Linked DNA regions of Homo sapiens: all the other regions are linked to region 1. Evidence: promoter capture Hi-C in 16 types of primary human blood cells and fetal thymus (Javierre and others, 2016). All regions are on one chromosome and are shown on one strand. The core of a region is centred on a gene start or on the middle of the fragment in contact, and the rest is flanking DNA. Distances in the headings are between cores, read along the strand shown. Region 1 holds the start of ZNF35 (zinc finger protein 35). Region 2 overlaps TCAIM (T cell activation inhibitor, mitochondrial). Region 3 overlaps TOPAZ1 (testis and ovary specific TOPAZ 1).

What was found. The method cuts DNA at HindIII sites, captures the fragments that hold promoters and counts their contacts. A CHiCAGO score of 5 or more calls a contact.
Region 2: a contact is called between a fragment that was not itself captured here and the fragment with the promoter of ZNF35 in region 1, in 1 of 17 cell types (monocytes). The highest score is 5.2, in monocytes.
Region 3: a fragment that was not itself captured here is called in contact with the fragment with the promoter of ZNF35 in region 1 in 3 of 17 cell types (megakaryocytes, monocytes and naive B cells); the score reaches 6.8 in megakaryocytes.

Annotation. Positions count from the first base shown.
Region 1 is chr3:44,647,445-44,650,561 of GRCh38, forward strand. It overlaps ZNF35 (zinc finger protein 35), which reads left to right and starts at 1,288. Exons shown (of 4, transcript NM_003420.4): 1 at 1,288-1,390. ZNF660-ZNF197 (ZNF660-ZNF197 readthrough) reads left to right here. Exons shown (of 8, transcript NR_147692.2): 8 at 1-1,027. It overlaps ZNF197 (zinc finger protein 197), which reads left to right. Exons shown (of 6, transcript NM_006991.5): 6 at 1-1,027. All of the region lies in intron 2 of ZKSCAN7-AS1 (ZKSCAN7 ZNF cluster antisense RNA 1), which reads right to left. RefSeq lists enhancers at 973-1,532, 1,411-1,580, 1,661-1,770. The HindIII fragment of the contact is 4,515 bases long and covers 1-3,117 here.
Region 2 is chr3:44,339,897-44,343,102 of GRCh38, forward strand. All of the region lies in intron 1 of TCAIM (T cell activation inhibitor, mitochondrial), which reads left to right. Among named protein-coding and RNA genes, the nearest start is that of TCAIM, 2.7 kb to the left of the region's middle. The HindIII fragment of the contact is 1,166 bases long and covers 723-1,888 here.
Region 3 is chr3:44,319,327-44,322,657 of GRCh38, forward strand. It overlaps TOPAZ1 (testis and ovary specific TOPAZ 1), which reads left to right. Exons shown (of 20, transcript NM_001145030.2): 17 at 1,701-1,865. Among named protein-coding and RNA genes, the nearest start is that of TCAIM, 18 kb to the right of the region's middle. The HindIII fragment of the contact is 1,680 bases long and covers 487-2,166 here.

The sequences.
Region 1 (3,117 bases), core at 38-2,537:
CTGAGCATTTATCCCAGAGAAATGAAAACTTGCGTTCACACAAAAACCTGTATACGAATGTTCATAGCAGCTTTATTTGTAATGGTCGAAACCTGTAGGCAACCCATATATCCTTCCTTAGGTGGTTAAAACAAATTGTGGTTTATGTATTACCATGGAATACTTGTTACTCTGCAATAAAATTGACTTATTGATATCCATAACAACTCAAATAAATTTCAAGGGAATTAATGCTGAGTGAAAATAATCACAAAAGGCCATATTCTGTATGAAAATATTCATATAACATTCTCAAAATGATAAAACTATAGAGATGAAAAATGGATTAATGGTTGCCAAAGGTTAGGGATGGTGGGAGGAAAAATGGGGAGAGGGTTGGATGGAACTATTAAAAGGTAGCACCAGAAAGGTCTTTGTGGTGATGGAACACTTGTGTATCTTGATTGCAGTGGTGGTTACACAAATCTATAGGTGCTATACCTATACACACATACTGTACCAATGTTGATTTCCTTTTTCATTTTATGTAAGATGTAACCATGAGGGGAAAGTGGGTGAAGGGTGCTATCTTTGCAACTTCCTGTGATTCTATCATTTCAAAATAAAAAGTAAAAACCAACAATGGCAACGAAAACCCAAAACTAAAGAGCTGTAACCAACTAAAGTGTGTGAAACTGATTTGAAAAAAAGTTATAAAATACATGTTTTAGGACAGTTGGGAAATTTGAATATGACTGGTTATTAGATGGTATTAGGGAATTTTTGTTGATTTTCTTACCTGTGACGGTGGTGGTAGTTTGAAGAATATTCTTAATCTTAAGGGATGCATGTTGAAGTATTTGGAATGAAGTGTTCTGATGTTTACAACTTTCAAAAAAATGATTTTAAATATGTATTGAGAGATCAGGCAAACATAGCAAAATGTTCATTGTTGAGTCCACATGGAAAATACGGGTATTCAATGTGCCATACTTTCAACTCTTCTGTACTCTGATATTTTCAAAATAAAACATTTGAGGGGAAATTATCAGGGCTTTCTACAGATTAATGCTGTGTAGCTTCAGGCTCTTGGGTGCGCGCCTCGCCTGAGTGTCTCATCCCTGCTTGGGATGCGCCCCTCCCTGAGGCTCACTTAGAGCTTCCAACAGCACAATCCTCCTAAGCGCTTCTGCCCCATCCCTGGTCTGGGGCGACATTGGACACCCATCGAGAGGAAAGCACCTCCGAGGTTCCTAGAGAGGCCGGCTTGGCGACTTGGGGAGCCGGAAGCCCATCCCGAGGCACTTCCTGTCCGGTCATTGTTCTCGTGCCGGTAGAAGCTGAAGTACCGGTCAGCCAGCCTCCTGCTGCAGAGCCAGTGAACTCAGGTCGGGCTTCTCAGCTGCGCACAGTGAGTGGGGTCGGAGGGGGTGGGCACGAACGTCGAGGGAGAAAAAGGGGCTCTCCCAGGGGCCATGGCCCTAGGAGCGGCCCCTGCGTCCTTTCCCCGGGGACACCAGCCTTGTCTGTCGGGGTGCGGGGGGCAGTGAGTTCCCCACCGCCTCGGAATCCCGGCTGCTGCCCACCTGGGGCCTGGTCCGGGAGAGGATGCACACGGACCGGCCAAGGGGCCAGATAGGTCCCAGGGACAGGGCCGCGAGGAGCCTATACGTGGAAAGAATGGATTGCCACGTTTGGAAATAGAGAAAGGACGTTGAAAGGGAGCCTTTGATAGAGGGCCCTGTGCCGTCTGGGACCGGAGGTCCGTCAGAATCTGATCAGAAGTCTGATGAGAGTACTCACTGTAGGCAGTCTTATACACAAGGTGGAACTAGTCTTAAGGACCTTCATACCAGATTGAATTCGGATAGTGATGGAAAGAATAGTCCTCCAGAATTAAGGTTTGTCACAGGAATGAAAGTATTGCATTACTTAATAAATTCAGTGTATACAGTAAGTGGCCAGTAAGTTGACATGGGGAAAAGAGTATGATCACTTCAATAGCAGCAACAGGGGATTGAATAAGATTTCGCACCCTTTTCCAATAAAACATTCAAAGGGGGTTAGAAAGAAAAATTTCAATCTCTTCATAAGCAATCAAACTAGTAAGGTTATTTTGCTCACAGGTTAAAAACAAAAACCCTGCTGGCTTAGCTGTGATAAAGGGTTACTGTCAATTAGTGGGGGTGTGAATTGGCATGGTGCTTTTGGAAAGCAATTTGACAGTACATATCAACCAGCAAATCCTTGAACCAGTAATTCTCTGATTATTCTAAAGGAATAATTCAGCAAAAAAAAAATATTTACAAAGAAAAACTTTTAAATATTAATAAAATGGAAATATAAACTTTTACTAAATAAATGGTTCATAAATAGAATATGATTAAGTAAATGATAATATAGCCACAATTTAGAATACTATGCCAGAATGAGGTAGTTCTATATGTGTTGTATTGAAAGATTGTTAAGACTATTGTGAAATACGGAAATTGAGTTAAAAAACAATGCAGGTTGCTGAACAGTATATAACTGTGATGATCTAAAGTATGTTTTTGAAAAATAAGCAATATGTGTGAAGGTGAACATATAAGTATGTAAATGCAGAGAAAATGGGTTAGGACTCCCATCTAAACTGATAAGTACTTTGTGTGTGTGTGTGTGTGTGTGTGTAGTGTGTGTAGGTTATATATTTAATTCTATATATTTCTGTATTACTTGATCCTTTTTCAATGAGAGTGAAGATTTATCAACACCATAGGTTATTGTGTAGCATTTAAAATAAGCATGAAGAATGGCAACATGAAAGTAATCTTTTTTTAAATCTTAAGTGTAATATTTTATCTCACAGGACATTTGGAAGCTATGGAAAATGTAAAAATCAAACAAAAAAAATGAAAAGAACCTTAAAACTACCTGTAATTACACCATCCAGAGTTAACTACCCACTGCTAACACGTTGGTATAAAGACTCCCAGTCTTTTTCTTGGGATCCTTTTGTTCACATTATTTTGTATCCTTGGCAATAAAAAATCTTTTTGTTGTAAAATCCTTTTTTAAAAAATGCTATGATGATAATTGTGAAAATATGTATCCCCAAAGTCAAAAACAAGAATTTGTAAAATCATAATTATTAGTAGT
Region 2 (3,206 bases), core at 56-2,555, 310 kb before region 1:
CCAATGCTTTACGCAGGACCTGGCCCATAAGTGGTGATGAATGGGTGAGTTAAAGACTCGGTATGCCTCCCAAGTGTGATAAGACAGTGCAACCTCTTCAGTTATTTTATAGCATTTTCCAAGTGGAAGTATAGTGGGCTAAGTGCAGTATGGACAGGAACCACCTATGTAAGAATTTATCTGAAGACGAGAAGCCTGCGGTTGATGTGGATGTCCCAGACTTTTGGAGCTAGTGTCTGAATGAGAGCACCCAACTCTACTCTGAAGCAATGTGTCTTCAGTCAGCTGATAGTAATTTGATTTTCTGTGTAGCTAGTCCTGAAAGAGGAAGAACATTAGATCTGAATCTTCTAGTTGTCTTAGCAGTTATAATCTCAAAGTAAATTTACAGATTGACATTCCAGTTATCAGGCCTTCTAATTTAGCTTCCCCAAGGCCCACGTATTTCTGTCTTGAAGTGATAAAATTGGGTTCTGTTCTTACAAGGTTGAAGACTAACCCAAGATCTGGGCGTTGTGAAGCGGCAGGCAGCCATGCCTGCCAACCTGCTGGACATTGTCTCTACTTAGAATTTTGGTTTTTTTAATCTGAAAAGTACATAAACCATACAGGAAACAAAGAACTAATTCAAGCAAAAACTTGAAATCCTCCTTTGATTTTTAGCATAAATTGGGTAGCTAAAGATCCAAGTTTGTATTAAATAATTATTTTTAAAGAATTAAAGCTTAAACATTAACAGATGCCCCAGAATCCTCTTTGGTGATAGAATCAGGATTCCCTAATACAGTGGTTCTCAAACCTGAGTGTGCATCAGAATCCCTGACAGTGTGTTAAAACAGATTCCTCCATCCCACCCAGATTCTGATTCTGCAGGACTCGGATGGGACCTGATAATTTGCATTTCTCACGGATGCTGTTGCTGCTTTGAAAACCACTGCCCTAAGAGTTATTTCTTTCTCTCCTTCCTACCCTGTCCCTTTCTTCTTTTCCAAAACTGGATCCTCATCTGTCACTTAGTCGTCAGAGCCCATTCTTGAAGAGCTTACAGGAAATACTCAAAAGACTCATAGTACTCGGTTTTTCATTCTTATTCTTAAACAGAACGAGAAAATATATTTTTAATTTTTTCCAATGATTTGTATAGGAAGTGATCATCTTAGAGCAATAATTTTGTTGAATGGATAGCAGAATTATTAACTGAATATATTTTTATATATATAGGCATTTTCCTCTAGAAATATGAATTGGCTGCCATTGTGGGAGAGAGGAGAATTATTGGAAAAAGGAAAAGTCACATTCCCTCTCATTTCTCCCCTATTGCTCTCTCATTGTTTCTCCATGACCCAGAACACTGTCTTTAAAAAGTCAGTATTAATTCATAAAAAGACAATTCCCACAGCACAATATAACTTTATTATATTCACTTTAGGTTTTTATTTTGAAGAGAGAAATGCTACTTCCATCAAAACTTGTGTTTTTATTGGTTAGCAAGTGCCACCTTTGTCTTCAAATGGTAAAAGTAAACAACTAGCTATTTTTTAATTCTGATGAATTAAAAGTATTTTTCTAGAGAAAAATTTGTGAAATTATTCATCTGTACTTTTTGAATTGTATGTAGCCTTGGCAAAATTGCCTACTACCTTGTGTTTAAGACCTTCAGACATTGACTCCTTATTGTGATAATTCTGAGTTTTTCAACAAAGTTTTTCAAAATTTGTTTTTGAATAAAATGTTGTATTGAACTGCATGTTTGAGCAATATGTTATCTGACATTAGATGGAAAAAAATTATGCCATTTTTTAATACACTCTGACATAATAATAGTTGCAACTGTAATGAATTTTTTATTTACTAAATGTGGCTAAATCCCTTATGCATATTCTACTTAAGCTTCACAAAAGTTCTATGAAAAAGATAGCCCCTACTTTCATAAGTGATGTACCCCTGAAAACACATACACAAAGTCAGATGTGGGATTCCACATCCACAGTGCTTAAACATCATTATTAGGTTCTAAATTAGATTTCACCTTTTAGAAAAGTCTTATTGAATATTTCTAGCATTTTGTCTGTGTCTTTCCACCATTTTATCTTAAATGTGCTGTCCAGATAACTTCAGTGAGCATCAGATACAGACCAAATATCAATATAGATAACGTTTTCTCATTTGTATTTCATTTCGTATTCTTTATTACTAGTATTAGAATTGTAATTTTTCTTTTTTATAAAATAAAGACAAAATTCAATAAAATATTCACTAATTTCATTTACTAAATTGTACTCCTGTCTAGCAGATTAGCATTGTGTTAGCTCAAAGTATTCTCTCAGTTAATGAAAACTTAAGATTCAGAATTAAAAGGCAGTTTGGAGTGGGGACAGAATGTTTATATATATCCACATGTTTCTGCTGTAATGCCATTCTTGCATTCCTGGAAATCCTGACATGCTGCCAAACAATAAGCAAAAGTAACAGTTTGTGGAGAAAAAGCACACACCACTCAAAACTGAACAAAATTTTATAAGAGCCCTAACAAAAACCCTAACCCTAATAAACATGGTAGTAAAATTAAATCTAGTTTAGACCAGTTTCATCAAGATTAACATTCTAATCTAGGAGTAGCTTTATTTATCAATCAAATTTTTTTTTAAAAGACTTGGAAATCTCTAGCTTTTTCGTTTATCCTAGCACATTGCCAGATGGTTTGATGAAGTGGAAAATGTAGCCAGACTTGAACCCACTAAACATCTGCTTCTTAAACCAAAAGAAAGAAATACCAGGAGATTTTTTTTCCTTAAGGTCTTTACATATCACTAAAGCCTTTTTTTTTTTTTTAAATTGTAGAAAGCCTACCTCTGATCACTTCAAATCAGTAATATGTTGGGGGTAAAGTGCATATATAAGTCTTTCCCCTATTGACCAATTGCATATAAGCTGATTCACATTAAATAAACATTTTAAGGCTGGACACAGTGGCTCAGGCTTGTAATCTCAGCACTTTGGGAGGCCGAGGAAGGAGGATCAGCTGAGGTCAGGAGTTCGAGACCAGCCTGGCCAACATGGAGAAACTCCATCTCTACTAAAAATACAAAAATTCGCTGGGTGCGGTGGCAGGCGACTGTAATCCCAGCTACTCGGGAAGCTGAGGCACGAGAATCGCTTGAACCTGGGAGGCAGAGGTCGCAGTGAGCCGAGATCATGCCACTGCA
Region 3 (3,331 bases), core at 77-2,576, 330 kb before region 1:
ATTTTAAATGAATCTCCTAAAATACCATATATACTTTCCAAAAAATGTGACCATTACCCTACCTTAAATATAAAGAATAAGTATTAAAGAAAAATGATGCAATTTTTATGAGAAAAGGTTTATATAATCTACTTTTTGTACATGGGATATATCTAACAGATAAAAAATAATTGAACTTATTCAATCAAAGTAAAATTCACTTTATAAGGAATGGTGAACGAACAGTTTTACTTTTAATGGGAATTATGTTTAACAGATGATCATACAGTCTTTGAAGATATTAAATTCATTTACATTTCTCTCTATATTAAAATGTCAGCAAATGTAGAAGCAAATTAATGAAAGTATCTGTCTAAATGAGTTAATATTCTTAAAGCACTTAGAACATTCCTAACACATAGTATAACTCTGTTAGGTCAATCAGTCAATCACATGGGCTCTAGTAATTGAAAAGCTCCTTTTTAAAGCTTTATACTGGATACTAAAAGCTTTCTTTTGTCATGATATATTTGAATTATCAACTTTTTCTTCAATACTTTTTATATTCACTGTGCTAGGAAGGCCACAAAATAAAAGGATTACTTCTACATTTAGTTCAGTTGAAAAAGAGCACCAAAATATGATTTGAATGTTACATATAGTAATGTTTCACTATGTGTATAATGATTGAGTAAATTAGGTAAATGATAAAATATTGACATTTCTAACATTTTAGTACCTCAGTGTTCTGTACTACAGTCTCCCATTGTTTTTCTCAATGTGAAAATCAGAGCAGAAATTAAGGAACTTCAGCATTATAGGTAATATTCTCTTTTTTTAAAGAGGGTCTGAGGTCTGTTGGTTTGAGGGTCGTAGGTGGGTGTGATGGGTACACAGGAGTTAATTTTATTATTATGCTTTTATAACATATATTATTCTTCTGTATACAACAACGATTTCATAATAGAAATTGTTTTTAAAATAGAAAGTGTTAAGAAAAGCTATTCGCTGGTCGGGCGCAGTGGCTCATGCCTGTAATCCCAGCACTTTGGGAGGCCAAGGTGGGCCAATCACAAGGTCAAGAGATCGAGACTGTCCTGGCTGACACAGCGAAACTCCGTCTCTACTTAACATACAAAAAATTTAGCCAGGTGTGGTGGCACGCGCCTGTAGTCCCAGCTACTCAGGAGGCTGAGGCAGGAGAATCACTTGAACCCGGGAGGCGGAGGTTGCAGTGAGCCAAGATTGCGCCACTGCACTGCACTCCAGCCTGGGTGACAGAGTGAGACTCCATCTCAAAAAAAGAAAAGAAAAGAAAAGCTATTCCCCAGTAATACCAAAAACTAATTAAATTATTTATTGTGAAATTGTTAAACTTGTCCACATAAATAATATTTTATGTTAAAGCAAATATTTGTGATAATCTGAACTTTTTTATATAAAAATAAACATTTAAAATTAGTAATTGACTAGTACACTTAGATGAAGAATTAATTAAAAATAAATATAACAAAGTGGCCATTTGTTTGCATCTTCTTCAGATGATGATCATCACTATATAAGTTATTTCTAATAAATTTGAGCCATGGTTATCTTCTCTGAGTACATATGTTTAAGTTTTGCCTGTTTCTTCAAAAGATATATTGAAACATTAGTTGTGATTATACTGTTAAGTGTCATTTTCATGGTATAAACTATTCATATTTTTTTCTTTTTGGAAGAGTCAGAGTGGATAATCAATACGCCTCTGTGGCCTTGTGATAGACTGGATGTGCTTAATCGACATAATTTACTCTGTACAATTGCACATGAAATCTTAGCCAAGAGCCTTTATAGACAGACATTTGAAGTTTTGCAGAATCTACCAGGTTTTCAAAATTCCCAAGGTATGTTTTTTAAAAGTCTATCTTAATTATCTCTTGCCCATCTGGTGTTTAACTGTTAATAAGAAATAGTTATCCACCTGTTTTGATTGAGTTTTATATTCCAGCATATTTTTTAATGAAGTAGTTTTCTGTAAAATATGTTCTCTGCAAATTGAATATACTTTCCTGATGGTTTAAAAAAATCTGAGATGCTTATCTTTGGGTTGTTTGTCAGCAGTTCCTAAGACAAGCATTTTTATCATTCCCTTTTCCCTACTTCTGTCAAGTCATCAGCAAACAATATGTTTAAATGCCCTGAGCAAGCTTTTTCTCTTATCACTGAATAAATACAGAACTTAGTTTACATTACCTAGGAACACAGGTAAACTTGAAAGAAATGGAGGAAGTGAAACAGATGCCAAGTTCAAACGCCAATGTGGGAAATGGTAGTCAGTACTCTTGAATGTTGGGTGTCCATGAGCAAAAGCTTTGGGTCAAGAATGAGCTATGTGATAGGTTCAGAGGATGACGAAAACGTTAACCTGAGGGCCTCCCCTCAGTACTTTCATCGTACTATCTATAAATTTTCATTTTTCCACTTAATTCCACTGTGCTCCTGTATTGTAATGAGCATTCTTATCTGTTTCTCCTTATACAAAGTGAGCTCAATCAGGATGGTACTATTTTCTTTACCTTGGTATTCCTGGCCCAATGGCTGCTATCTAGCAATCTCTTAATATACAATTAGTTGGTAATGAAACAAAGTAGTAATAGGGAGATTGGACAGATAGTTGTGCCAGATTTTGGAAGACCCTAAATGTCAGGCTAAAGGAATTTTCTTCTCTGTGTATAAAAAGGGATCACTAGAGTTTTGGGTCTAGGGAGTGATATAATGAAATTGGTGTTTCAGGAAAGTTCCTCTGGCAGTAGTGTTTAGGAAAAGACTAAAAGTAGAGAGATTAATTTCCTGATAAGTCCTGGATAACTAAAAGATTCTAAAGCAGTAAGGAACTACAGTCTAGCTCACAGACCCAACTGACTGAATATAGGGAATAAAAGAGAAGTCTCTAAGATGACTTCTCTTTCTTCTAAGAATAACTGAAGGAATAGAAAATCCATTAAAGGATTGTTTTAAATTTGGCAGTAAATATTTATTAGGGGATGATTTGTTTTTAGTCAAGGGATATATAAGGCTAAGGTCTGAACTGTAGATATAATACAAACAGAATTGAGAAATTATTCAAGACACTACAGATACACAGTTACATGTGGGAATCAAATACAGAGGTCTTAATGCATCCTCTGAAATTTTTGTCAAGCTTCTTTTTATCTTCTCTATTGCAAAGGAAGTTAATGGTTTTTCTTTTGTCAAATGCTTTTTCGTTTCTGACTTAGAGAATATGTAAGATAGGTTGGGCGCGGTGGCTCATGCCTGTAATCCCAGCACTTTGGGAGGCTGAGGCAGGCAGTTCACTTGAGCCCAGGAA